5 separate regions of the Homo sapiens genome follow, and regions 2, 3, 4 and 5 are each linked to region 1. Evidence: promoter capture Hi-C in 16 types of primary human blood cells and fetal thymus (Javierre and others, 2016). All regions are on one chromosome and are shown on one strand. Each heading gives the region's core, a stretch centred on a gene start or on the middle of the fragment in contact. The rest is flanking DNA. Distances are from core to core; before and after follow the strand shown. Region 1 holds the start of PLAG1 (PLAG1 zinc finger). Region 2 overlaps LOC124901949 (a long non-coding RNA gene). Region 3 has its middle 57 kb from the start of PCMTD1-DT. Region 4 overlaps RB1CC1 (RB1 inducible coiled-coil 1). Region 5 overlaps RB1CC1 (RB1 inducible coiled-coil 1).

Evidence for each region. The method cuts DNA at HindIII sites, captures the fragments that hold promoters and counts their contacts. A CHiCAGO score of 5 or more calls a contact.
Region 2: a contact is called between a fragment that was not itself captured here and the fragment with the promoter of PLAG1 in region 1, in 2 of 17 cell types (non-activated CD4 T cells and neutrophils). The highest score is 6.2, in non-activated CD4 T cells.
Region 3: a contact is called between a fragment that was not itself captured here and the fragment with the promoter of PLAG1 in region 1, in 1 of 17 cell types (naive CD8 T cells). The highest score is 7.8, in naive CD8 T cells.
Region 4: a contact is called between a fragment that was not itself captured here and the fragment with the promoter of PLAG1 in region 1, in 4 of 17 cell types (non-activated CD4 T cells, total CD4 T cells, activated CD4 T cells and 1 more). The highest score is 10.0, in non-activated CD4 T cells.
Region 5: a contact is called between a fragment that was not itself captured here and the fragment with the promoter of PLAG1 in region 1, in 1 of 17 cell types (naive CD8 T cells). The highest score is 5.4, in naive CD8 T cells.

Annotation. Positions count from the first base shown.
Region 1 is chr8:56,209,919-56,215,476 of GRCh38, forward strand. PLAG1 (PLAG1 zinc finger) reads right to left here and starts at 1,355. Exons shown (of 5, transcript NM_002655.3): 1 at 1,203-1,355. CHCHD7 (coiled-coil-helix-coiled-coil-helix domain containing 7) reads left to right here and starts at 1,871. Exons shown (of 4, transcript NM_001011671.3): 1 at 1,871-1,919; 2 at 4,680-4,749. The coding sequence starts at 4,696. RefSeq lists silencers at 1,340-1,899, 1,742-1,967 and enhancers at 1,980-2,049, 3,620-4,119. The HindIII fragment of the contact is 9,849 bases long and covers 1-3,244 here.
Region 2 is chr8:60,501,785-60,506,981 of GRCh38, forward strand. All of the region lies in intron 1 of LOC124901949 (a long non-coding RNA gene), which reads left to right. Among named protein-coding and RNA genes, the nearest start is that of RAB2A, 13 kb to the right of the region's middle. The HindIII fragment of the contact is 456 bases long and covers 3,464-3,919 here.
Region 3 is chr8:51,954,022-51,959,434 of GRCh38, forward strand. No RefSeq gene overlaps it. Among named protein-coding and RNA genes, the nearest start is that of PCMTD1-DT, 57 kb to the left of the region's middle. The HindIII fragment of the contact is 3,639 bases long and covers 2,040-5,413 here.
Region 4 is chr8:52,704,913-52,710,112 of GRCh38, forward strand. The region is part of intron 1 of RB1CC1 (RB1 inducible coiled-coil 1); the gene reads right to left. Among named protein-coding and RNA genes, the nearest start is that of RB1CC1, 6.9 kb to the right of the region's middle. RefSeq lists silencers at 2,729-2,778, 2,789-2,948. The HindIII fragment of the contact is 900 bases long and covers 3,118-4,017 here.
Region 5 is chr8:52,644,200-52,649,523 of GRCh38, forward strand. It overlaps RB1CC1 (RB1 inducible coiled-coil 1), which reads right to left. Exons shown (of 24, transcript NM_014781.5): 16 at 1,503-1,668. Among named protein-coding and RNA genes, the nearest start is that of RB1CC1, 68 kb to the right of the region's middle. The HindIII fragment of the contact is 515 bases long and covers 1,091-1,605 here.

The sequences.
Region 1 (5,558 bases), core at 105-2,604:
TGGCATCACTTTTTTTTCCACCCAAAAAAACCCCGCAAAGATCATTAAAAGAGAGTTATAAAATAGCAAATATAGTGTTTATCTTATCTGAGATCAGTCCACATTACCAATAAGTTTAGCAGTTTCTGCACTACCACCTCCCCCCTCGCTCCCCCTGCTTCTCTTGCATCGGATTTTCACGTTTTCTCATTGTCGGTTGAGTTATAAAAGGCTTTTGCCCTTCGAAAGTTTTAAAAAATAAATAAATATTAACTCCTTGGTCCCTGCAAAGTCAAAATGGACTTCAGGGGAAAGGCGGTACATACTTTTACCTTTAGCGAGAAAAGGGGGAGCATCCCGGATTTTTAGGGATTTTTTGCGATTTTTTAAAAATTTTTATTTGGTTATATGCCTGAGTTCTCCCTCCATTTTGGTTGTTTATGATACTGACAACAAGCTGTCCCTGCTCTGTGCCGATCTCCTGCTTTCATTTAGCACCCCCTCCCCCTACCCCCCCTCGCAGCCACACACCCCGGGCTCACACCTCCCTGCAGACCCCGCACCCCGACCCCGGCTTGCCCACCTGAGGAAAGGGCAAAAACAAATTCATTTCTCCAGAAAAGAAAAACCTCTTTTGAAAAAGGGGCAAAGTTACCCCAAGTCACTCAAAGTGCCCCCCAAATATTGCCGACTGCGGGTTTCCGCCAGGCCCTTTGGGAAGCGACCTTCCCCCGGGATGTTTTGGTGGAAAATGCGGAGAGTTTACTCTCAAAACTGAATTTATATTAATTTTTCCCTTATTTTTCGGGTCTCTAATGTCTTCCGCTCTCGCTGCTGCCGCTGCCGCTGTCACAATATTCACAGCACCAGAGAGGAGGAGGAGGAGGAGGAGGAGGAAAACTTTTCAAACTTTCCAGACCCTGAATAAAGGTTTTTTTTTTTTTCCCACCGACCTCACCTTCGGGTCCCCAGCCGCATCGCCCCCTGCCCTGTCAGAAGCGACTTCGGGAGTCCTCGCAGCCCCGCGTAATTATTTTATTTTATTTTTTATTATTATTTTTCTCTCTGGGGTCCTGAGCAGGGGCTGAGAGTAGCACAAACTTTTCCTCCTCCTGCCGCCGCCGCTGCTCCTCTGCCCCCTCGGCTAGTCCCATAATTTAAATAACCCTGATATTTCTCCCGCTAAACGCCTCGCCGCCGCCCCGGACCCCCGGAGAACTCACCGCGGGGCTTTAACATCCTCCCTCCGGCCCGTCCGCCGCCTCTACACCGCCCGCGGAATTTCTAATAATTTTTTTCTCATATTTCGGGCTGGACGCGGCGGGCCTGGAAATTGTTTCCTTACGCCTCTTTCCAGCAGCCATTGTAGTGTATGCGCTGCCCCTGCAGCCCAACTTGCAGCTGCCGCCGCCGCCGCCGCCGCCGCCGCCGACGTCGCGCCCACCGCTGCCTCCCCCTGCCTGTTCGGCCACCGCCCCCGCCTCCCGTCGGCCCGCCCCCAAACCCCGCCCGCCGCTGCGCCCGCCCCCCGCGCGCGCTCCGCCCGAGAGCTGGCCACTCGGAGCCGCCGCTGGCGGGAGTTGGCCCGCCCATTGGGCCGCGACGCCGCCCGTCAAGCCGAAGTGTTAAGAGACGGGCCGCGGCTGGGGGGCGCGGTGGGGCGGGGGAAGAGGGGGCGGGGTCGCGCTCACCGCCCCGCCCACTCCTCCCGCCTCGGCCCTCCTTTCGCCAGGCGGGGGCGGGGCGAGGCCCGACCGCCCCTGCGGCCCAGGGCCCCGCGCGGCTGTCAGTCTGGCGGCGGCGCGCGCCGATTGGGCGGGCTGCCGCCGGGGAGCGGGGGCAGCAAGTTGGGATGCGCGCTACTTAAGGTCCTGCTGCGTGAGCCATTGACGTGTTTGGAGCTGGAGACGGCCTGGGTGCTGGCGAAGCGGAGGCCGGAGGTGAGTGGTTCCCCCGCCCTACCTCCGAAGCGGCCGCAGAAAAGCGGGGAGAGAGGGGTGCCCTTGGGCCGTAGCGGGGCCCGAATGCACTTCTGCGGCGCGGAGGCGCTCCCGCCAGGCTTCGCCGCAGCGCGGACCTCTTCCCGTTGCTCTTCCTCCCGCCACACGGGTCTGTTCGCTCCGGGGGCGAGGAAGATGACCTCTGCCTAGTCCGGGCAACCCCAGCTCTTCTTCCACTCTCCTGTGTAGCCTCTGAAGCGCAGTTACCGGCCCCACCCCCAGTTCCCTGCGTTTTCCTCGCCCCTTGTCTCTCTCGGCATGGTCTCGGCACAGCAAGGTGTGTTCACCTGTGCGCGCCGTCCAGGATCAGATGCTGACGGGCTACACCGCGGAAGGCGGCGAGGCCTCGGGTTCGCCCTTCGTTTCTCCTTGCCCTGCGCGCCCACCTCCGGCAGGCCACCCTTGACTTCTTGCCCCCTTCCACTTTGCACCTGGCAGTGGGTTAACGGCACGGCGTGTGCAGCTTCCGGGTTTAGCAGAGCCGCGGACCCTGCCTGGGCTCCGACCACGGGGCGTGTGGGCATGAACGTGTTCAGAAACGTTTCCTTCCCCCTGCCCTTTCAAAGCTACTTAGAGAGGGGGGACGTGAACCACTGGATGGGAAATCAGGAACTGCTTTATTAAGCAGTTTGCCCTTTGGAGTGGATTTTAGAGTTATCCCCTGAATGTGCTATGGTTTTGTGGCCCCTCCTTCATATCTTTGCTTGGTTTTTCTTTCTGGTTATGCTCTGCAAGTAGTAGAGCCTTGTAACATTTATTTAGTACATTCAAAAAGTAATAGACAAGGCCCCTTTAGCGGAGCACTCGATGTTGTAATTCAGCCCCGCTCCTCACTGTAAATTGACATTTCCTCTTCAATTCCAGTTAATACACGAGGAACTCATGCAAAGGAGGGGACTTTCGGAAATCCAAACTTAGAGTGCCTTGTATTTAGAATCCGGAAGGAAAAGGAAATGAAATGTGAAGAAACTCATGCACCAAACTCGAACTGGGTATATGTGATGTTACCTAGGTATTATTTTTGAAGAATTTCTGACTGACAATAAAATATAGAGTAGGATACTTTCATGTAAGGCACGAAACTTAAATTTAATGCAAGGTTGTCTGATCCTTGTTGAGATTATTAAATCTAAGGTGTATGAAGAGTTCTGTGTTCTCACATCATAGGATAGGTGTAAAAAAGAAAGCTGTGAATTTATTTACTATCATCATCTCTCTTAGGAAGAAGGGAAGTGTGGAAAAAAATTGTCTTCAGGAGAGGAAGAAGCTTGTAGATATAATTGAACAGCATCTTGATTTCTTTTTTGCCAAGATGTTACTGTTGGCTGGTTATTTTCTTGTATTGTTCAATGAAAATCATAAAATTATTATTCAGTGATTACTTAATGGACACCAGAATAACCAAACCCTTTTCCATTCTTTTTTTTGCAAAGGCTGGTCTCCTTTGGCCTGGACGTCCTGATCTTTCCCATAGTAGAACTGGGCTGGGTGTCTCTTTTTTTTTTTTTTGAGACGGCGTCTTCCACTGCTGTCGCTTGGGCTGGAGTGCAGTGGCGCGATCTCGGCTCACTGCAACCTCTGCTTCCCAAGTTCAGGCGATTCTCTTGCCTCAGCCTCCTGAGTAGTTGGGATTACAGGCGCGTGCCACCACGCTCAGCTAATTTTTGTATTTTTAGTAGACAGGGGGTTTCACCATGTTGGCCAGGCTGGTCTTGAACTCCTGACCTCGTGATCCGCCCGACTCGGCCTCCTAAACTTTTGCAAAGCTGTATCTCTAGGAATTGAATTGGAAGATTACTGAAGCACAGTAGCATTCCCTGACTTCCTGCAACGCAGGGAAATAGTTAAAAAGAAGATGCCACTGGAAGTAAAATTTCAACTCTTTTGTTTTTGAAACAGTATAGCTTTTCATAATGTCAACTAAGCAATAACTTGGCTTTTTGGTGTGTTGGCTACCCTACTATTGGCCATAAAATAGGCACTCTGGTACTTCAGTTGATGAATGTTTTTGCTAAAGTTGGACTGTACCGAATTTCATTCTTATTTTGTACGCTAATTGGTGTAAAATAAGGAAGTAATTGTTGGAATGCATACTGTATTCTTAGGTTTTATTAGTACATTTGGTTGCTTAAACTTAAGAATAAGAGTAAACAACAACTGAATTATAATTGAACTATCTTTCTTTTTCGTTTTTTTGAGACAGGGTCTCTCTCTGTCACCCAGGCTGGAGTGCACTGGTGCAATCACAGCTCTCTGCAGCCTTGACTTCCTGGGCTATCCCACCTTACTTAGCCTTCCAAGTAGCTGGGACCACAGGCACACGGCACGACACCAGGCTAATTTTTGTATTTTTGGTAGAAATGGGGTTTCTCTGTGTCGCCTAGGTTGATCTCGAACTGCTGAGCTTAAGCAGCCCTCTCGCTCCAGCCTCCCAAAGTGCTGGGATTACAGGCGTGAGACACCGCACCCAGCCAGTAGATGCATTTCAATCCAATATATGGCCTTTGTGTTGAGGCATGGCAATACAAAGGAAAAACACGTTCAAGTTTTTATTCACAAAGTACAGAGAATACATGAAGTTCCTCACTAAGTGATCATTATGCCAAAATCAAAATTTCAGGTACTTTTAGTGCTATTGAGATGTATTGATTTATTTTCTGTCAACTACTGTATAATTATTTTTTTTCTGTCTACCCTCAGTAAGAAGACTGTTAGAATGCCCTCGGTAACACAGAGGCTGAGAGATCCTGACATAAATCCTTGTTTGTCGGTAGGATGGTTTGCTTTAATTTTCATGAGTGTTAAGTTGGAAAAACAGGCTGCTCTAGTTTTGTGGGCCTTTGTTTTCTGCAGTTGTTGAATAAAGTTATTTCTCTAGAAAAAATATTGTTGGCCAGCATATCCTATTTAACTAGAGCATTTTTAGATGTTTATAATTTCTCTAACAAACATTCATCTTTTCTTTAGTTTTCCTTATTTGTATAATATGCAAGCATTTGGTTGTCACTGTAAAACTAGACAGGAAAATGTAACACTGAGAATATTTAGTCCAAACATGGAAAACTGGAAGGTATGATATTTTTAAACTGTCACTGACATTTATTGTTTCACTAGCAATAATATCACCATGTCCTTGACAACCTGGCTGAGAGTAATGGGCTGATAATATAATTAGCCTATTTAAAGCTTAAAGGTTTTCACAAAGGTATCTGATAAACAAAATGTTTTAAGAGTAAGCTTTTATTGGCATTTATTTGGTATGATTTGCGATACTTACTTGTGGCTTTGCTACGTTTGAATAATGTAGTTATCATACTGGTCCCATGAAAATTATACTCTTTAGTTATATGCATTTTCCAAATATATACATTCATTAAATATTTGGCACAGAAATTCAGCTTTGTTCTGTTTACGTAGAACATGTTTCTTAGATATGTGTTGCAAACTGTCTACCCATATAGCTAAAGCTTTCCTTTAGATCTGTGTTCCCCAACCTTTTGGGCACCAAGGACCGGTTTTGTGGAAGACAATTTTTCCACGGATGGGGAAGGGGGCGGGCGTCAAAAGGCATTAGATTCT
Region 2 (5,197 bases), core at 2,442-4,941, 4.3 Mb after region 1:
CACTGTAAACTAATGCACATCCTAGCAAGAACAAAGGGAACACAGACATTGAGTCCCTTCTGTGGACCAGGACATTTGACAGACTCATACATTCTTTCATTAATCTTAGCAATCTCAAGAGCAGGTATTATTTTTCATTTTTTACTTATTAAAGAAAGTAAGGTTTTTAAAGTTTCATTAGCTTGATCACATGGCTCGAAAGTAGTAGAGCAAAGTTTTAAATCCCAGGCTGTCTGCCTCCAAAATCTGCATCTATAATAGCTGTTGTTGGTTGCCTTCTCTGCTCCCTTTTCCCCCTTTCTTCCAGATGTTTTTCAACACCCATATCCTCCCATGCAGCCAGTGAGCTTCAAGGGTCAGTCTCTTGCCTACAGCAGTCTTTTTTTTTTTTTTTTTGAGACAGTCTCTCTCTGTTGCCCAGGCTGGAGTGCAGTGGCACGATCTCAGCCTCCCAGGCTCAAGCAATTCTCGTGCTTCAGCCTCCCAAATAGCTGAGACTAGAGGCGTGTGCCACCATGCCCGGCTAACTTTTGAATTTTTTTGTAGAGACGAGGTTTCACCATGTTGCCCGGGCTGGTCTCAAACTCCTGAGCTTGAGCAATCTGCCCGCCTTGGCCTCCCAAAGTGCCAGGATTACAGGCATGAGCCACGATGCCTGGCCCTCCAGTAGTACTTCTTAGCAGCAGGTGCAACTGGCACTTGGGGCTGACCAGTTATTTGCTCTGCAGGGCTCTCAGGTGCATCTTAGGATGTTTAGCATCCCTGACCTCCACTTGCCATCACTCTAACAACTCAAAATGCCCAGCATACACTTGCATGGAAGTGCTCAGCCTGAGAATGGCCAGTTCACACAGAATACCGTGCCTCCTGCCAATGATGGGTTCAGGAACTTACCCAGCAATTGGTGAGCTGCCCCTTGAAGGGGATTTCCCTGCCACATGGAATGATCCATGTGCTTCCCACAACCTCGGCACTGCACAGTAATCCTATCACTTTGATATTCTTTTTCCCATTTTACAGATTAAGAAACTGAAATACAGATGGAATCAATGGCATGGCCAGGTCATATGGTCAGTAACTAATGAAGCTGGAGGCTTAATATACTGCCAAATAAAATTATGGGAGTGACCTGAAGATCCAGATTGGATCCCAGGGCCAGAACTGGATGGTAATTTGATTGAATTTGTTAAAGTATCTAAAATGACTGTTATCACAAGTGGGGTTAGTCAGCCTTAAACCCTCAAAAAAGGAAGGTCTCAGAGATAAAAAGCAGTATTCTCTATTAAAACATGATTCATGGTTTAGATCTCAAGAACTTCAACCACAAAAAAAAACTTGTTTTAAACATGATTCATGGGAGTTTTTCATTCATCAAAATATTTGATACTTGGGCAAAGCCATTAGGCCAGGATTATAAATGCTGCAGAGGCCAAAGAGATAAATGGCGCTGTTCAGAGGGAGATAACAGGGTGTGGTTAGGGCTGATGAAGTAAGTGAGCGAATGAGCTGATTAAAGGTATTGGGATTAATGTTTTTCTCATCCCAAAAGTGAGATGGGTGACTCATGTTCTCTTAGCTTAAGGTCATTAAATATTCCATAGACATTATTCTTTGTCCAGGATAACAAAAAGCTAGTTGCACAAATTTAAAATATCCCTGTCTCTGGGACAATGATTTCTCATTGCAATTTGACCTTCTGCTTTTAAAAATCAGACTCATAAACTAGGTTAATGTAAGTCCATTCCTGAAAGATGAATTCACTCTTGATATACAGAGAAATCAGGTTTCTAAGCCTGATTTACTATACATACCAGCCTGTGAGCCCCCTTGGGAGACACAATATAGCCTTGCTTTGTGAACATAAAGCATACATCATTTCCTTGTGGACGACAAATATGTTTTTCTTATTTGTTATATGCTGATGATTTTTAAATTTGTCTGTGGAGGTCACAACTCTCATTAGTCAAAAATTTAAAAAGCTGTACCAGGCTTGCTGTAAAAATTAGATGATTTAAGGTAGTTTGTTAAACATTTTTTATTGCATTAAACTTTTAGGAAATTTTAAGAATAACTGTGAGAGATTCAATAGATACATAGGTAAAGGACACAAGCATGTTATCTACAATAGAGGAACTACAAATGTCTAGCACATAGTTGAAAAAAACATTTGGCCCCCACAATTATGCCAGCTATGTAGTATTTCTATCTCAAGCTCAGGCCACTCCCCCAAGCTCCAGATTCAAATGTCCAATCGCTCATGTGAGATCACTTAGAAGTCTACTGGCATCTCAATTCAACATGTCCAAAACAGAATCTTTGATTCACTCTCCTTTTTCCCACATACCTGGTCTCCTACCTCAATTAATTGCATTACTTTGTTCATCAGGCAAAATAAACAGGAATCATGCTTACTTTTTTCTCCTTCCCAGTTCTTCCATACAAAGTCTGTCATTGAGCTGGACCTGGTGAGGTCCTGGACTCTTGGGTGCTGCCTGGACCCACCCAAATGCCAGAATGGGAGTGACTTGATTAAGTTCCTCAGGGAGCTAGGTTAAGCAGATAACCTTTCTCTTGTTTCACACACACACAAAAATCTTGCCCTCCTAGAAATTCACCTCTCAAAACAATACCAGCCAAGTAGAAGAGGAAAAGAAGAGCAAGTGTCTAGAGGCCCTGATTTGCCTGGACACCCATCTGGGTGATTTGGGGTGGCCAACTTGAAAGAGCTTTTTTTTCCCCCAAGCCATTCTCTCCTGTTCTCAGCCAGCTTCCTGCAACCATGAGGTCAGAAACAAAAACAAGTATGTTTGTGCTTTTACATTTGTGATGGGCAAGGTACTCTAAAACGCAGGGTTCAGGGCAGGGGCCCCTTTCTTCTGAGTTCAAGAAAGCCACTGAGTCTTTTTTTTTTAGACAAGGTCTTGCTCTGTCACCCAGGCTAAAGTGAAGTGGCAGGAACATGGCTCACTGCAGCCAGTCTCATTCTCCTGGGCTCAAGCAATCCTCTCACCACAGCTCCCCAAGTTGCTGGGACTACAAGCACATGCCATAGTGGCCTGCTAACTTTTTTATTATTATTATTGTAGAGACAAGGTCTCACTTTGTTGCCCATGCTGATTTCAAATTCCTGGGCTCAAGCAATCCTCCCATCTCAGCTTCCCTAAGTGCTGGGATTACAGGCAAGATACACCACTGTACCTAGCTTTTATTCATTTTATTATTCATCTTTATTGCTTTCATTGCACATGCTGTTAACTTCTTATGAACTCTTTGTTCTAATAAATAAGCATATCCAGGTTTTTCATAAATAAATGAGGAGTCTATAAATTCTTACTAGTTTTAATAGAAACATTGCCACTAAAATGGTGTATTCTAGCTGTGTGAGCTTTTGGAAAATGTTTTCATTTCCTTTATGTTTGAATGTTCCTTCCAGGTCTTTGAAAATATACATTCTGAGTTGAAAAGCTTTATAATAGGTAAAACTCATTAACCCATATACTTTCCATGCTGGGCACAGCAGGTGTGGTAGGTAGAAATATAAGATGACTCCCAAGATTTTTGCACCCTGGCATACACATATGCTTTTCCAGTTGTTGAAACACTAATTTAGGTGCTGCTGTGAAGGGATTTTGTAGATGTGAATAATGTTCCAAATCAGTTGGCCTTAAGATAGAAAGATGATCCTGGATGGGCCAGATCTTATCAGTTGAGTCCTTAAAGGGAACAGCACCCTTCCTGACAAAGAGATTCAAAGCATGAAGGATTAAAAATGAGAGAGATTCTCTATTGCCAGCTCTGGAAATAGAGTAGGTCACGTGGTAAGTCGTTCAAGTGGCCTCTAGTTGCTGAGAGCAGCTCCCAGGTAAGAGCCAACAAGGAAATAATGACTACAAGGAGATGAATCTGGCCACACTATGTAAGCTTGGAAAGGAACTCTGAATGCCAGATGAGGATGCAACCAAGCCAACACCTTGAGTTTAGCCTTATGAGATCCTGAGTCGAGAATCCAGTGAGACGATGCCCAGATTTACCACAACCCTAGAGGCTAAAGACAATACCCCCTAATTATCTCACAATGCTGTATTGTCTTTAGTCTCTAAGGTTATTTAGTAATTTAGTAATAAAAAGCAAATCCAGTAGGACCATGCTAAATTAAGATACAACCTCTATATCATATGATGCAGTGTGAATCAGCACAGTAGAGATTGCAGTGTCTCTGGAAGCCATTTCTATACTGGACAATTCTTTGCAATAATTCAACTACACGTGCAAGTGATCAAATTAATATATCTTACAAAACTAAGTGTATCTTCAACAATACTCTTCCTTAACCAGTACCAAAAAAAAAGATCTGTGAATATTCTCTAACACCTCTCAACACAAGGGCAAGTGTCACAGATGGAAGTGAAGACTAAAGAGAGACAATAGAATTCACTGATTAAGGTTTAAATATCTTACTTTAGCAACTTTTTATTTGCAAAAATAGAAAACTGATCATGTGAACACATTTGCATTAAAAGATGTTTCTGCAAATTAGGGGCCCTGAAATTAAGCTTCATTAGGTTCATGGTAAGTCTACCTCTCTCTTTATCTATAGCACTTGGCAAAGGGCCTGGCATCTGAATGACAGGTCTCAAATGTTCTTTTTCATATGATTACATTAAATAAATCATTAAATTGTTATTTACTTAAATAACTTTAAAATTTTCTTGAGTGAATTAACACTACTTGAAGGATCCCTGTAAACTGAGTCCACTTTCAATTTCCTATCTACTGGGTCACTTATAACAAACCATGTTACACGTATACTTCCTCATCTCTGCTTGTTTCCAAGAAAGGAAAGGTAAGTAATTTAGTTTTTGTATTTCAATTAGTAATTCAATAACCTGTCTGTTTTTTGTTTTTTTAAAGCAAAATAGCTTATCTCAGAGTTCAGATCAGACAATCTCACCACTGGTGTTTGGATTCAGTGTCTTTTGAGGTAAAGTGAAAGAAGAACCTTTCAGAAATGCATGCAGTTAATTCAAGGAGAGGAAGAAGGATCTAGTTCTAAAGAGGTTTTTGTCTATAATTGATTTTTCTAAAGGAAAAATCAACAAAAAGTATAGTGTGTCAATGCTGAATACTCTGCTCTTTCAAACGGACACTTTCGTATTATAATTTGTATCAGATACAGTATCAAGAAAATTAAAATACC
Region 3 (5,413 bases), core at 2,609-5,108, 4.3 Mb before region 1:
AGCCTCCCCAATGAAACCACCTTGGAGAGGAGATAAGCAGGAAGCCATGAGAGCAGGCAGCAAAGAGCCAGGCCTCGAGGTCCAGGTAAGCATCATAACCAGTAGATACCAGGGAGCAGATGAGAGTCAAACGCCGGCTTCTCCCTGCTCACAGAAATCAATTCATACGTGGAAAGCAGTGCCCAAGGCTTAACTTGTTCCTCAGTTAGAGTTCTCCTTGGGGGATTGGAGCAGCAATCCCCACTTACAAACATCAGCAATGAGGAAAGGAATCCCCACCAAGTTTGTGGCCATGACATTTTTTGCTCAAACACATTTGTAAACCTTTCTTCCCCATTTTCTAACCACATTAACGTTGATACCAATACCTATGTGTACATGGAATTTAGCGCCATAGAAAACGCTGCTGCCTGAGTAATCTTGCTCCAGGCTTGCAGAGGACGCTGATCTCTGAAGGCTGCAACAGCCTGCAAGTAACAAAGCCGAGTAGCAGAGCTGAAGCTGAGTGTCTGTGGCTGCAAGTGTGGGCCCTGCCCTCGCATCCTCACTGCTCAGCCTCAAAGCAGAACCCATCTTTTTTTTTTTGACAGAGTCTTGCTCTGTCGTCCAGGCAATGGTGCAGTGGTGAAATCTTGGCTCACTGCAACCTCCCCTTCTCGGGTTCAAGCGATTCTCCCACCTCAGCCTCCTGAGTAGCTGGAATTACAGGCTTGCGCCATCATGCCCAGCTAATTTTTGTACTTTTAGTAGAGACGGGGTTTTGCCATGTTGGCCAGACTGGTCTCGAACTGCTGACCTCAGATGATCCACCCGCCTTGGCCTCCCAAAGTACTGGGATTACAGGCGTGAGCCCGGCCAGCAGAACCTGTCTTTAGGAGACTCACAAAATTGCCCTGCGTGACTGCTTACTTTCTAAAAGAGAATGCAGTATTTGAAATACAGAATCACAAATTAAATCAATATTAGTAAAAATAAAGCAATACTAATATAGGCACTACCAAAATTAGCAGATTGTTTTCACAGTGCCGGAGTCAATAGAAATGTACACTTTTTTTTTTTGCCTTATATACAAATGTGCTGTTTCGCTTCACACCAATGATCTGAATGAAAATGACTTCCTTGATAACTGCAACTGTGCTACTGCCTTGTAATTACTCTGTAACTCAGAGCTCCTTAACAGCAGGGAAACACACACCAAATAATGATTCTCAACTCTTCCAGAATTCCTCCCTTGTGGTCATGCTTGCAGTTGTCTGATTTGTACCTTAGTAGTATCATCTTACATGTTCTAATAAAGTGTTCCCAAACCATGCTCTCTGTAACACTAGAGTTCAGCAAGTTAGTACTAGATGTTCTGTAAAAAAGAAAAAAAAAATTGTGACCAAATAATTTCAGAAAACATAGGTTAAAACAAATTTAAACAGATTCTTTAAGGATTTTCTGAGTCTTTATTATTCCAGTGAACATGTGGATTTTCAAGGGGACTAGCATATTCATTGTTTCCCAAATGTATTCATTTCAGAATTTTTAAAAAATTAATATATCGTGGGGTATTTTTTAACATATTAATATATTGCAAGGTATTCTCTTTGTACTTGTATTCCCATCTTTGAATATGCAGCCATATTGAGATATTGACATTAATTTGCCTGAAAAAAAAAACTGCATAGAGCCACTAAGTATGGTGGAAAGTGTTTGAGGGTTGAATGTGATAAAGCAAAGATATTAATCAGTTATCTTGAAGACTACAAAGCTTGTTTACTTCCACATTATGAATTTATGGTAAGAATAGCCATTGTCAAAAATACTCAGACCATTTATTGACTATTAAAGATGAGTCACCAGGCGTGGTGGCACACACCTGTAATCCCAGCTACTCAGGAGGCTGAGACAGAAGAATTACTTGAACCCGGGAGGCAGAGGTTGCAGTGGGCCGAGATCACACCACTGCACTCCAGCATGGGCAACAGAGTGAGACTCTGTCTCAAAAAAAAAAAAAAAAAAAAAAATGAGTCTGAAACTATTGTTATCCTATGTCAAGCTTCCTTATATCCTCTAAGATAGAAACCATTACCCTTAATTTACCAGAAACAAGGCTTAAATAATTGAAGTAATTTTCCCAAGATCGTTCAGCTAGTAAAAGTTGCAAAGCTATGATCCAAAGCAAAGTTTGTACAAATCTGTATCCCAACTATTCTCTGTACTTCTCTATTCTAAAATGTAATCTCTACTTCGAGTGATTTAATATTCTGTGACTATTAGAGATTTGATTGATAAGGATTATGACCATATAGAATTTAGAACTTTTGAAATAAAGATTACAGAGTAGCAAATATTATTCTGGCATTAATTTTCTTTCTTTCTTTCTTTTTTTTTTGAGATGGAGTTTTGCTCTGTCCCCCAGGCTGGAGTGCAATGGTGTGATCTCGCCTCTCTGCAATCTCGGCCTCCCGGGTTCAAGCGATTCTCTTTCCTCAGCCTCCCAAGCAGCTGGGATTACAGGTGCGCACCACCACACCTGGCTAATTTTTTTTTTTTTTGTATTTTTAGTAGAGATGGGGTTTCACCATGTTGGTCAGGCTGGTCTTGAACTCCTGACCCCAGGTGATCCACCTGCTTTAGCCTCCCAAAGTGCTGGTATTACAGTCATGAGCCACCACGCCTGGCCTTAGTTTTCTTTTTTTTTTTTTTGAGACGGAGTCTCGCTCTGTCACCCAGGCCAGACTGCGGACTGCAGTGGCGCAATCTCGGCTCACTGCAAGCTCCGCTTCCCGGGTTCACGCCATTCTCCTGCCTCAGCCTCCCGAGTAGCTGGGACTACAGGCGCCTGCCACTGCGCCCGGCTAATTTTTTGTATTTTTAGTAGAGACGGGGTTTCACCTTGTTAGCCAGGATGGTCTCAATCTCCTGACCTCATGATCCACCCGCCTCAGCCTCCCAAAGTGCTGGGATTACAGGCGTGAGCCACCGCGCCCGGCAACTTAGTTTTCTTTTTCCAGGCTTTGGCAATTAATTTTCACAAAGTCCTTGAGAAATTATAATTTTCTGGAAACAAAATAGAAACACTGTAAATACATTTAATATAGTAACACTTGATAATTCTGCTGGAAAACAAAAACACTCCTAAATGTGAAAAACAAGCTGTGGAGTGCAGCTATAAATTCCTTCATATCAGATTCTAGTACCAGATGCTGTGAGAAAAGATTTAAGAGTGTGTGTGTGTGTGTGTGTGTGTGTGTGTGTGTGTGTGTGTGATGTTACTTGGAGAAAGATCAAATTAAAATGGAGAATGGAGGAGGTCTTTTTATAGTCTCCTCATTTGCACTCCAAGTTAGGAAATGGCTGTATAAAGAGATGATCTCCAAGAACCTTTATAGGACTGATGTGGCTTGACCAAGACAAATACAAATAAAGAGTGGACAGTGGAGTCATGGCTTAGGGTGTGACAGCAGCCTCTAGTACTTGAAGAATTATACTTTGATGAGAGATTAAGGTTTTGTATCACCGGGAGGAACAATCCTGATGAATGGGTTGTGAAGGGGTCAGTCCACCAAGGTGGTTAAGCCTGAACCTGGAGTCCAGCAGCTCAAACTCACATGCCAGCTCACTCCTCAGTAGTTATGGGAGGTTGGACATGGTAGTCAATTTCTTTCAGCTTCATTTCTTCATCTTTGTTCTAAGGAAACTCATACTAACCTCATAGGGTTATTGTAAAAAAAAAATGAGATAACATTTGTAGCGTGCTCGGTCCATTGCCTGGTGCTCCGTAAAAACACTGTAAGTGGTAGTAATAACAACACAGTCATTGGGAGTCAGACTGTGGCTGAAGATAAGTTAGAACTTCCTAAAAGAAGGAGGTAACTTATTCTGGAAGTGCTAAAATTTAACTGGGATTGTCTCCAGTTAAGGAAATTAGAGAGACAATTTAAGATTGCAGATGGGCTTGCTGCATTCCCCTGACCCCTATCTCCTTTGTCTCTCAGCTGGTGGCTTGCTCATGCTGAGTCACCTCTGCATTTTCAGAACAGATGACGGAACATGAAGTGATATGGGTGTTAGCTTCTCACCTGGCCACCGTGAGGCCAGATGACAAAATCCGCAAGTGTAGGAGTTAGTCCTCTAACTCCTACATTGTTCAAAGGAGTGACCTTTGAACAATGAGAAATGGAACATAGAAGTGATGGGGGACAGGTGATCCCCCCAGATTGGGGCTTAGCCTGGGAGGGTTCTTAGCTTCACCCAGGAAGAAATTCAAGGACAAACCAGTGGTGTTAGACGGTACCTTTTATTGAAGCAACAGTGTACAGCAGTAGCAGAGGGACTGCTCCTTGCAGAGCAGGGCTCCCCCATAGGTAATGTGCCCAGAGTAACAGCTCAGAGGCAGTTCTGCAGGCATATTTACACCTACTTTTAATTGTATGCAAACCAAGGGAAGAATTATGCAGAAATTTCTAGAAAAAGGGTGGTAATTTCTGGGTCATCAGGTCTTTGCCAGGGAAAGGGGCAGTAACTTCTGAGTGCCATGGCAATGGTAAACTGACATGGCACACCAGTGGGTGTGTCTTAAGAAGAAGTGCCTTCACCTTTTCCCTTTTTTGGCTAGTTCTCAATCTGTTCTTGTGTCTGAACCCTGCCTCCAAAGTCAAGTCCCACTTCCTACCTCAGAAGGAGCTGGGCAAATACACCTCTCCCTCCTTTCATTCTGCTGTGGACTGCTCCAGAGTCCTGCATGAGGATAGGCTGGTTGAAAGGCTGTCTGTAATTTGCAGATGACTGTGGCGTATTGTAACACACAGTGTATTGTCTCATGTTCCTTTGCTTCACTTTGTCTTTTCCTCACCTCACCATTCTGGCTGTGCACCTCTCAGATAAACATTCAAAGCTGAAGCCTTGAGTCTGGCTCATCTTCGAAAAATAAAATAAAATAAAATAAATTTAAAAGGCCAGGCATGGTGGCTGGTGCCGTAATCCTAGCATTTTGGGAGGCCGAGGCAGGTGGATCACTTGAGGTCAGTAGTTCAAAACCAGCCTTGCCAACATGGTGAAACCCCGTCTCTACTAAAAATACAAAAAATTAGCTGGGCGTGGTGGTGCATGCCTGTAATTCCAGCTACTTGGGAGGCTGAGGCAGGAGAATCACTTGAACCTGGGAGGCAGAGGTTGCAGTGAGCTGAGATCACGCTACTGCACTCCAGCCTGGGAGACAGACTGAGACTCCATTTCAAAAATAAATAAAATAAAATAAAAAAATAAAAGATCTGGACTAACACAGGTGTTTCTTGAAATCTAAGATTTGCTTTCACTGTAAAGCTAACCTTTGAATTTTATCTCATTAGACAGGATGCCACACAGAAAATCAACTGATTTACCTAGGATTTCTCTACCTCTTTGAACTAAGTGAATCATGTTTTCA
Region 4 (5,200 bases), core at 2,318-4,817, 3.5 Mb before region 1:
TAAAATGAAACCATATTTAATACTATACAAGTTAACACAAGCCAATTCTAAATTAAAAGTAACAGGTTAGTAACTCAACAACTGACACAAGATTTTCTTAAATTATTTGACCCTCTGCTTAAACAGTCTTTAGTTTCTACCCACTAAGAATTACTATAAACTGCCTACCATATATACTGAGACTTCGTAGGACAGAACAACTGTCAAAACATGTCAAACATACTCATAACTCACACGGTAGTTAACAAGTTAGTAGGAATCATGATGCATTAATAAACATAATGCATGAAACTGAACAGATCCAAATTGATCTTTATACATGCATACCTGCACTTGTGTATCTATACAATAATGGTGGGATTTCAAATTGGGGAGAAAGGATCAACTTTTCATGCAATGGTATTATGACAAATGGCTATCCATAGCATGAAGAAAAATAAACTATCTGGAGGTACATATTCACTAATGAGAACTAAAACATCAACAAGGTACTACTTTTTACCCTTCAGATTACTACTAATGATTAAAATGAGTGCTAAGTGTTGACAAGATTAACAGTGGGTCCACTGGCACATTTCTGACAAAAATATAAACTGGTATAACTTTTAAGGGAATTTAATCTGGCACTATGTATCAAAATTTAAAATGTACAAACCAGCAATTCTACTTCTGGGAGCAAAGAATGAAACAAGTGTACAAAGGTATATATATGCAATGATTTTCATTATACCATCACTTTTTAAAATGATGAATTTAAAAACTATCAATGGAGGTTGGTTAAATAAATTATGCCTATAGTCCTAGCTACTCAGAAGGTTGAGGCAGGAGGATATGGCTTGCTTGAGCCTGGGAGCTGGAGGCTACAGTGAGCTATGATGGCATCACTACACTCCAGGCTGGGTGACCCAGCAAGATCCTCTCTCCAAAAAAATAATAAATTATTACACAACCCTATAAGGTATCAAATTTTAGACATTTAAAAATGTTTTGATCTATACGTATTGATCAGTACAAAAAGCAATTTACAGTATATATTATGTGATTCTGTTTGTGGATTTTATTTTTACAACTAATGCAGGAGGACATATGTATATGCAAGCACTTAAAAAGTCTGGATCAATTTAATAGCAATCTTTTTAACACTGGCTATCTCTGGATGCCAGACTTTTACTTTCTCCCAGTTCTTTTAAAAATCACATTTATAATTAGAGGGGAAAAACACATATCCATTAAAAAAAAAAGATGACACCCTATACATTACAAAGAAATAAAGAACCTGAATTTGTTGCACCAAAAGAGTTAGTCCCACCAAGAGAGCAAGACAAAGATTCCCACCAGCCTTCCCTATTTCAGTCCCAATCTGAGGTCCTAGGGGAGTTCTGCCCCACTCCCATTCTAAATATAGCCTTCCCTAAATGGTCATTCATGTTTAGTCTTCCAACTGTTATCTTTTTTTTTTTTTTTGAGATGGACTTTCACTCAGTCACCTAGGGGCTGGGTGCAGTGGTGCGATCTCCGCTCACTGCAGCCTTCAGCTCGTTGTAGCCTCCGCCTCCCAGGTTCAAGAGATTCTCCTTTGGGAGGCCGAGGCAGGCGGATCATGAGGTCAGGAGATTGAGACCATCCTGGCTAACACAGTGAAACCCCGTCTCTACTAAAAATACAAAAAATTAGCCGGGCGTGGTGGCAGGCACCTGTAGTCCCAGCTACTCGGGAGGCTGAGGCAGGAGAATGGCGTGAACCCAGGAGGCGGAGCTTGCAGTAAGCCGAGATCTCGCCACTGCACTCTAGCCTGGGCTACAGAACGAGACTCCCTCTGTTTCAAAAAAAAAAAAAAAAGAGAGAGAGAGATTCTCTCTCCTCAGCCTCCAGAGTAGCTGGGATTATAGGCACCCACCACCACACCCAGCTAATTTTTTTTGTATTTTTAGTAGAGACAGGGTTTCGCCATGCTGGCCAGGCTGGTCTCAAACTCCTGACCCCAAGTGATCTGTCTGCCTCAGCCTCCCAAAGTTCTGGGAATACAGGCATGAGTCACCACGCCCCAATTGTTATCTTTATGTAAACATAAGAGGGAGAACAGAACTGTGAAAAGAACATGAGATTTGGAATCAAAAGAAGTATATTCAAGTCCTGGCCCAATGTGACCTGAACTGACTTCACCTAACAAGTTTTTTCATTTGATTACAAAAAGTAAAAGTACCTGTCTCACAGGGTTGTGGTCAGGATCTAACGAATAATCTATACATATATGGAAGTTATGTAAACCATAAAGTGAAATACAAACATCAATTACTGTTATTAACTAATCCAGATCTCTGTTCTGAGTTTAGAGCTAGCAGTAACTGATGCTTCATATTTCCAGCTGGAAATCCTACTGTTACCTCAAACTCAACATGTCCAAATTTAAATTCGGTGCTTTTCCTTTAAATCTATTCCCTAATTTATTCACTGTCAATGAACTATCATTCTACTATTGCCCCAAACTTCAGTTATTTTTCTTTTCTTTTTCTTTCTTTCTTTTTTTTTTTTTTTTTTTACAAACTTTCCAAAGTGACAATGGACCAGGCTTCAGTTATTTCTGTCCAAGTCCTACCCATTTTTTTCCTTTCTAATCCAACCCCTCATTTTCCAATGACATAACCCTTACTTAGGAAACTGCAACCTCTTCTCTCTGTCTTTAAATCTCTATCCGGCTTCAATCCTTCCTAAATACTCCCTACCAGTTACAACCAAGGTAGTCAGGCTGCTTCCCTCAAGTATCTTCCCTAGCACCTTACTGTTGCCTACAGCAGGGCACAAATCTGTAGTTTCTTTACAGCTACACTCTCTTTGTCACCTCCGGTTCAGTACTCAGACAGTTTCACTTAATTGTACTATCTGCCCACCCCTCTTAGCATGTGAATTTGCCAACTTGATATAGGCTAGATTAACATAAAAATGGCAGACTTAGGAACAAAATTTACTTGTATTTGAATACCATCTATCTCACTGAGGCTCAGGTAACCTCCACATATCAGTTGACAATCTATAAATTGCAACGATACCTTTCACAGAGATGAGAAGGATAGCAATAATGTACTTCAGAGTCCTTTACGGTGCTAGGAATATACTAAAAGCTTTAAAAATGGTGGCAATTATGACTTTAATTAAACTCCAGCACTCAAGAACTTCATAATTAACCCCAGTTTATTTTTGTAGCAGTATCATCAACTACTCCCTTACATGACAAACCTATACCCTCACTTTACATACTCCTGCCAGGTAAAATACCCCCATCTTTGCTGATCTGAATTTTACTCATCTTTAAAAGTCAAAGTATTGCCGGGCACACTGGCTCACGCCTGTAATCCCAGCACTTTGGGAGGCTGAGGCGGGTGGATCACAAGGTAAGGAGATCGAGACCATCCTGGCTAACACAGTGAAACCCCGTCTCTGCTAAAAATACAAAAAAATTAGCCGGGCATGGTGGCGGATGCCTGTAGTCCCAGCTGCTTGGGAGGCTGAGGTGGGAGAATGGCGTGAACCCAGGAGGCGGAGCTTGCAGTAAGTTGAGATCACACCACTGCACTCCAGCCTGGGCAACAGAGCGAGACTCGTCTCAAAAACAAACAAACAAACAAACAAACAAAAGTCCAAGTATTGTCCTATTACCACTTCTGGGAAGTCTTCCCTTATCACAGGTGGCCTATAGTATTCTTTCTCCTTTCTCTGAATTTACAGAACTCTTAAGTAGTTAATATAAGGTAGCAGGAATTCTCTTATCTGGGGGGAAAAACCTATCTCTCATTATGAGGACATCTGGTCCTCCTAAATCCTCCTAGGATACAGTCAGCTATAAATGAAGGGGAGAAGAGAGCTGTATTTTAAAAAATATTGATCCGACAGGGTGGTGGACATTATCTCCATTGATGCGGTAGTAGCCCGTGACCCCTCAATGAGGGAGAATTGCTAATAACTGCAGTTTACAGAACTAGGGATCAGGCAAAATTATTTCTAATCATCTTTTCTCTCTGAAGCTTTTAGTCCACTTTATATGCCACCCAGCACTTTGGGAGGCAGAGGCGGACAGATCACCTGAGGTCGCGAGTTTGAGACCAGCCTGACCAACATGGATAAACCCCATTTCTACTAAAAACACAAAATTATCTGAGTGTGGTAGCACATGCCTGTAATCCCAGCTACTCAGGAGGCTGAGGCAGGAGACTCGCTTGAACCCGGGAGTCAGAGGTTGCGGTCAGCTGAGATCATGCCATTGCACTCCAGCCTGGGCAACAAGAGTGAAACTCCATCTCAAAAAAATAAATAAAAATAAAAATATATTGATCCCACTGCATTTGTTTCCAGATGTACAGGAATAACAACTGAACCCATATATATCCATATTTGAGGAAAAGAACCAGAAAGTATCTCACATACTCATTAAAATCTATCCAACTTATCAAGTGGAGATTTACAATTTTCTCGAGAGATTATCATGATGATAAAGTCAATTATCCCAGCCTTACTGTCAACTATTCTAATACAGTCAAAACTTAGAATTAGGCCAGACACAGTGGCTCCTGCCTGTAATCCCAGCACTTTGGGAGGCCGAGGTGGGTGGCTCACTTCAGGCCAGGAGTTCAAGACCAGCCTGGGAAACATGGTGAAACCCCGTCTCTACTAAGAATACAAGAATTAGTTGGCAGTGGTAGTGCATGCCTGTAATCCCACCTACTGGGAGGCTGAAGTGGGAGGATCATCTGAGCCCACGAGGCAGTGGTTGTAGTGAGCCTAGATCACACCATTGCCTGTCGCCTGCCTGGGCGACAAAGTAAGACTCTGCCTTAAAAAACAAAAACAAACAAACAAAACAGAATTCGCTTCCTTATATGATAAGGTGAAAGGGGGACACCCCAATGACAATCTCTGACCTTCAAAACTGGACACATTCATTATTCATCCACTATTTTGGGGGCATCTAAACATAAGCCAGACACTGCTAGGTGCCTGGAATACAAATATCTTCAAGATGCTTTCCAGCTGAATAGAACACATGAGACTCAGATAACCCTAAAGTGGACTAAAAGCTTCAGAGAAAAGATGATTGGAAATAATTTTGCCTGATCTCTAATTCTGTAAACTGCAATTATTAGCAATTCTCCCTCATTGAGGGGTCACGGGCTACTGCATCAATGGAGATAATGTCCACCACAAACGG
Region 5 (5,324 bases), core at 98-2,597, 3.6 Mb before region 1:
TCAGAAATCACCTATACAGAGCTAGGTACAAATAACCTTAAATAAATACAACTTAACATACACATCATGGAAAATTGGAAGGTACCTTAGAAGTCATTTCTCCCACTCTTATTTTATAAATATTAAAAGAGACATCAAAACATGAAGAAGTAAATTAGACAGCTGTCAATACTATACTTTTGGTTTCAGTTAATTCATTCTTTACTTAATTTTAGAAATTGTACATGTGCTTATAAGAGAACACACAAAGAGACAATGCAACACAAGGAGATAAAGAGATCAATATGCAGAATGAATCATAGAGAAGAATCTATAAATCCAGATTCTTAGAGAGAGGTTACTACTGACCTCCTCATTGTTAATTCTTACTTAAAACTTGGCTATTCCTCCTCCCTGAACACTTAACTTTCCTTGGCTTCCCTTAAGCCACACACTTTTTTTTCTGGTTGTGCTTTTCTCATTCCCTTTTCCCAGGCTCTTCTTTCTTTCCCTAGGCCTTAAAAATCTAAAATTGTTAGAGGTTTCAACTATACTTTATTTTCTTTCTGTTCTCTGATTTACATTTTTTCAAATTCCACAAAGACACTAATTAATCATAACATTTTAGGAAAAGGAAAAATACCACATAATATTACATGTGTACAATAACCATAAATATGCAGTTTCAGAAATGTATCCCTCAAAATGTATACCCCAAACTGCAATATTATCCCTGGCCTGAATTCTAGCAGTAGCTACCAAATTGCTCTTCCAGCTGACTGCTTTGCAGTTCTCCAATCTTTCTCCATGTTCCAGTGGGTGATCTTCATTAAGCATAAATCTAATTATGCCATTGTAATTAGTTGCTGTCCGGTACTTTAGGTAAAGTACAAGCTCTCTAACAAGGCATCTGGTTTTTTATCTAACCCCAATATACTTCACAAGCACTACCTCTTACTATTGACCAACAACAGTAAGTACATTAACAAAATTCAATAATATTCCATCTTAATCTACCACCAGCCTATCAGAAGGATAAGAATTACAGAAAGGGTAAGATATTTATGTTGATCTGAATGTAATTTAGGATAACAAAGTTTAGAGAATTTGAAGCTTAGAGAAAAAATAAAATCATTTTTTAAATTAAAAACATCATTTCATAGAAAACTAATCTTAGTTCTCAAGAGGTTAAATGATCTACCCAAGATCACATAGGTAGCGAAGAAACCAGGAACAGAATTTACATTCCCTCGCTTCTAATCTAAGACTATCTCATTTTGAAGCACCTGGTATTGTCATGTGACATGTTAACATGAAAAATATTATTCTCCAGATGAGTAAAAAAACTAAAAAAAATTCTTAAAAATACACGCTTTTGTCAAGAGGAAATTTATTAACAGGATCAATGTAAGGAACATCACATCTAAGATATAAGAAACCCTCAGCTACATAAAGAAATTATATTTGTTAATTTATGTCTACCTTCTTTAGTTCTCAAATGAAATGGGAAAAGAGATACAGACCTGTTGTTCCGCAATCAAAGATGTTCGAACATTTTGCATTTCTTCATTCTTTCTTTTTTCTTGCTCTTCAAGTTGTTCTAGAAACTTAGCTTTTTCTTCCTGAAGCTTTTCTTGAAGTTCAGCAACTAAGCTTGAAGAATCTCCTCTGGTAGAGTCAATGGCAGGACTTACAAATTAAATACAGCATTAAATTAAAAAAAAAATTACAGACACACAAATATACCAAATATCATATTTGGGAAATTTATCTTCCTTAAGCTCAATAATGTAGCATGAAAGATATCTGTGTGAACCCTCTCTTTGAATCTAAAAAGTAAAGGGAAATAAGTAAAAGTTTAATACAGATTAGATGCTGACACTAACAAGGTTTACTGATTTTTATCAGTATAGCAGATAAATTCCAGATAATTTGCTTATATCAACATACATAAAAATCAAGAGGCTGCTCTGCCCATGGAGTAGCCATTCTTTTATTCTTTGGCCGAGCTCTGTGGCTCACACCTGTAATCCTAGCACTTTGGGAGGCCCAGGCGGGAGGATCACTTGAGTCCAAGAGTTTGAGATCAGCCTGGCAACAAAGTGAGACCCCGTCTCTTAAACAAACAAACAAACAAACAACAAAAAAAAACAACAGCCAAGCACAGTGGTGCATGCTGAGGTAGGAGAACTGCTTGAGCCCAGAAGTTCAAATCCTGCCTGGGCAACATAAGGAAAAAGTATTTTCTGGTAAGGGACTATACACATAAGAGATAGGTAAACTCAACTTCAAATGTCAGTTTTGCTATTCCTATACATGAAATTTACACAATGACTTAGGAAAAAAGAAACACCTAAAGATTGCATATGTTGAAATGCTTTAATTTCCATAAAATAGTCTTTGGTTCATTTCTGCTAGCAAGTAGGTAACACAAAGCTAAAACTGAAAAGCGCTTACACGAACAAATCTACATATTCCTGAACTCATACTCATTTTCCTCAAGACTTACTAACCTCTTAGGGGTTGCTGACAAAGTGCTAGAGATGAGAATAGGACAATGTAAGAAGAAATGAACAAACACTGGTTAATGATTAGTTTAACTTCTAATTAATAACTCATTAACTTCTAATTATAACTTCTAAGTATTAATCTTATCTACTTTCAACTTAATCCTTAGCATTAAAAAAAGGTTTCTCCAAGAAGCAGATGAAAAATCCCATTAGTATTAAAACATGCTAAGCCTCAAAAAGTTGCTGTTACTAAAAACCACTTTACCAGGTCAATTTTTAGGCTTAAATGTCCCTCTTTGTTTTTAAATGATATTTTAATGTTTTTGAAATCAGGGTGTGTTCTGCAATTAATATGGGCATGTATTTAAAATGTTCACTCTACATGTTTCTTATGTAATTTCCTCATCTAATTATATGACAAGAATACACTATATCAATAATCATACAAAAAATTATTGGAATCCTTTTATTCATGCTTCCAAATTTCCTGATAAAAATCTAATAACTTAAACTTGCTGCTCAGATAACCTTTCCTCCAAAGGGATAGCTTTATACAGCCAAATGCAGAATATGCAGTTTGAAACATAATATCTCTATCAAAGTCTGAGACTCCTTACTTAGTTCCCAGAAAGGCTGGAATAGGAATCCCCTATTTCATAATATAGTTAATTAAAGGAAGGAATATATATTCCATAATATAATTAATTAAGGCGAAGGATTTACTTTTAAAGTTTCTCCTTTGGGGCTGAAGAAGAGGGGGATGTGCAAGTTTAAACTACTCCATGGCTGGAAAACTGACATACTACATAAATCAAAGGCTTACTAAGGAACACAAAGAGACTTACAAAGAGACTCAGACTACTAATAATGAAGTGCTTGGGATAAAAATAGGTATAGGCAGGGTTTACAAAGAATCCTGCTTGGCCGATTTCTTCCTTGAAGAAATCTCCACAGTTCTAAGGTAAGCTGAAACTTTTAGGAATAAAAAATAAGGCCAGGTTTTAAGGAGGAAATCAAGAGAGCACTGAGGTTGGAGATGTGAAGGACAGATAGTGAACAGTAAAGGTTATGAATTTTATTGCAAGTACCATATAAAGTCATTGAAAGGTTTGGTCTAGAGAATGATATCGTGTGAATCTAGGCTTTGAAAAGACTATTGTGAGAAAGGATATTAGTAAGAAATGTGGCACAGTAAAGAAGCCTGAAGGAGAGCTTTCAACATGATAAAGGATCCTAGAATTGTACTAGAAAAAGTGTGGTTCAAATTGTGCAAGAGAGGAAGGGGAGGCCATGCACAGGCAGTACTTATAATTTCTAGGTGTCCTGCATCTTTGGATTGCTTGGGGTACTCCATTTCAGGGTCAGTGCTGTGCTGAGATAATACAGGGACAAGAGGACACAGTTCCAGGTACACAAACAGATATAGACACCCCTGACACTCTCTGTAAACACCATATCCCCAAAACCAGAATAAGAACACTAGATGATTAGCATAGGGTATCTCATTTACTGACTCAAAGTAAAAGCAAAGATTGCACAGGTTATGACATGAAAAATAATCATTATCCTGTACTGAAGACAGGTTTCTTGTGGCTGTATTAATCCGGCCAAAAGTACATACTATGCCATATTGTTTGAAGCTCCCATTAGAAAATGTTCCAAGTGACTATCCGCCACACAACTTTAATTTTACATTACCCTAGGATCTGAAATGGCCCTGCTATCAGGGGAATTAACCCTAGCAATGAAAGGCTAACAGCTAAAATAGGTTTTGTGTTTTAACTAGCATCACTGCCTAGCTTTCTATGGGGAGCAAGAAGCTGTGTAGAGGGGAGGGAGGTCATGAAGAAAAGGTTACAGCGTATCACAGTTCAGTTAGAAAAATACAGTAGTCCCCCTTTACCCACAGGGAATATGTTCCGAGACCCCCAGTGGATGCCTGAAACTGTAGATAGTAACAAACCCTGTATTTTTTCCAATATATGCACTGTGGTCCTAACTTTTGCAGTTTGAGGTGTGATGGCAAAAAGAGAATGAATGGGCTCCTCCTGCACAGTTTCACAGATAGGTTGGGTCTTACTGTAGATCTTTGCAATCTCAGCATTTGATTTTTTTTCTTACTAAATCAAGAACTTTCATCTTTTCACTTAAACGAAGCACTTCAAGGCTTCTTTTTGGCATATCCAAATTGTCGACATCATTACTCTTGTGCTTTGGAGCCATTAAATAAAGGTTACTTGAACACAAGGACTGCAATACTGATAACCCAGATGGCTAACAAGTGACTAATGTGTGGAGAGTGCCCACAGTGTGGATACACTGGACAAATCATGCTACTCAAAACAGTGTCCAATTTAAAACTCAGGAATTGTTTATTTCATTTAATACTTTCGAACCATGGGGTAAGTGAAACCATAAGAGCGAAATCACATAAAACGAAACTAGACAAGAGGGAATGACTGTATTTAATCTAACAACACTACCACAGAAACCTAAGAAATTCATCAATAAAGGTTGTCCAACTAAAAGAAACTTGCATAATCCTGTCTTTGCATACCTGAATACTTTAAAGAGGCCTGGACATTGAAACTCAAGGAAGCAGATACATTTGTTACCAGCTGGGAACTTTAGTATCACGGAAACTTGAAAAAAGGCATCTCTAAAGGCTGACAGTTTTTCCCACCATTAAAATGTCAGTTCTAGCAAAGGACTGTATTATATCCAAATATTTCTAGCAACTAGAAAATTTACATTGAACATAAACTAGATTGTCTTGATGCTTGAACTCTTAACACTGACTGAATTAAAATGGGGCCTAGTAAACAATTAGTTCAC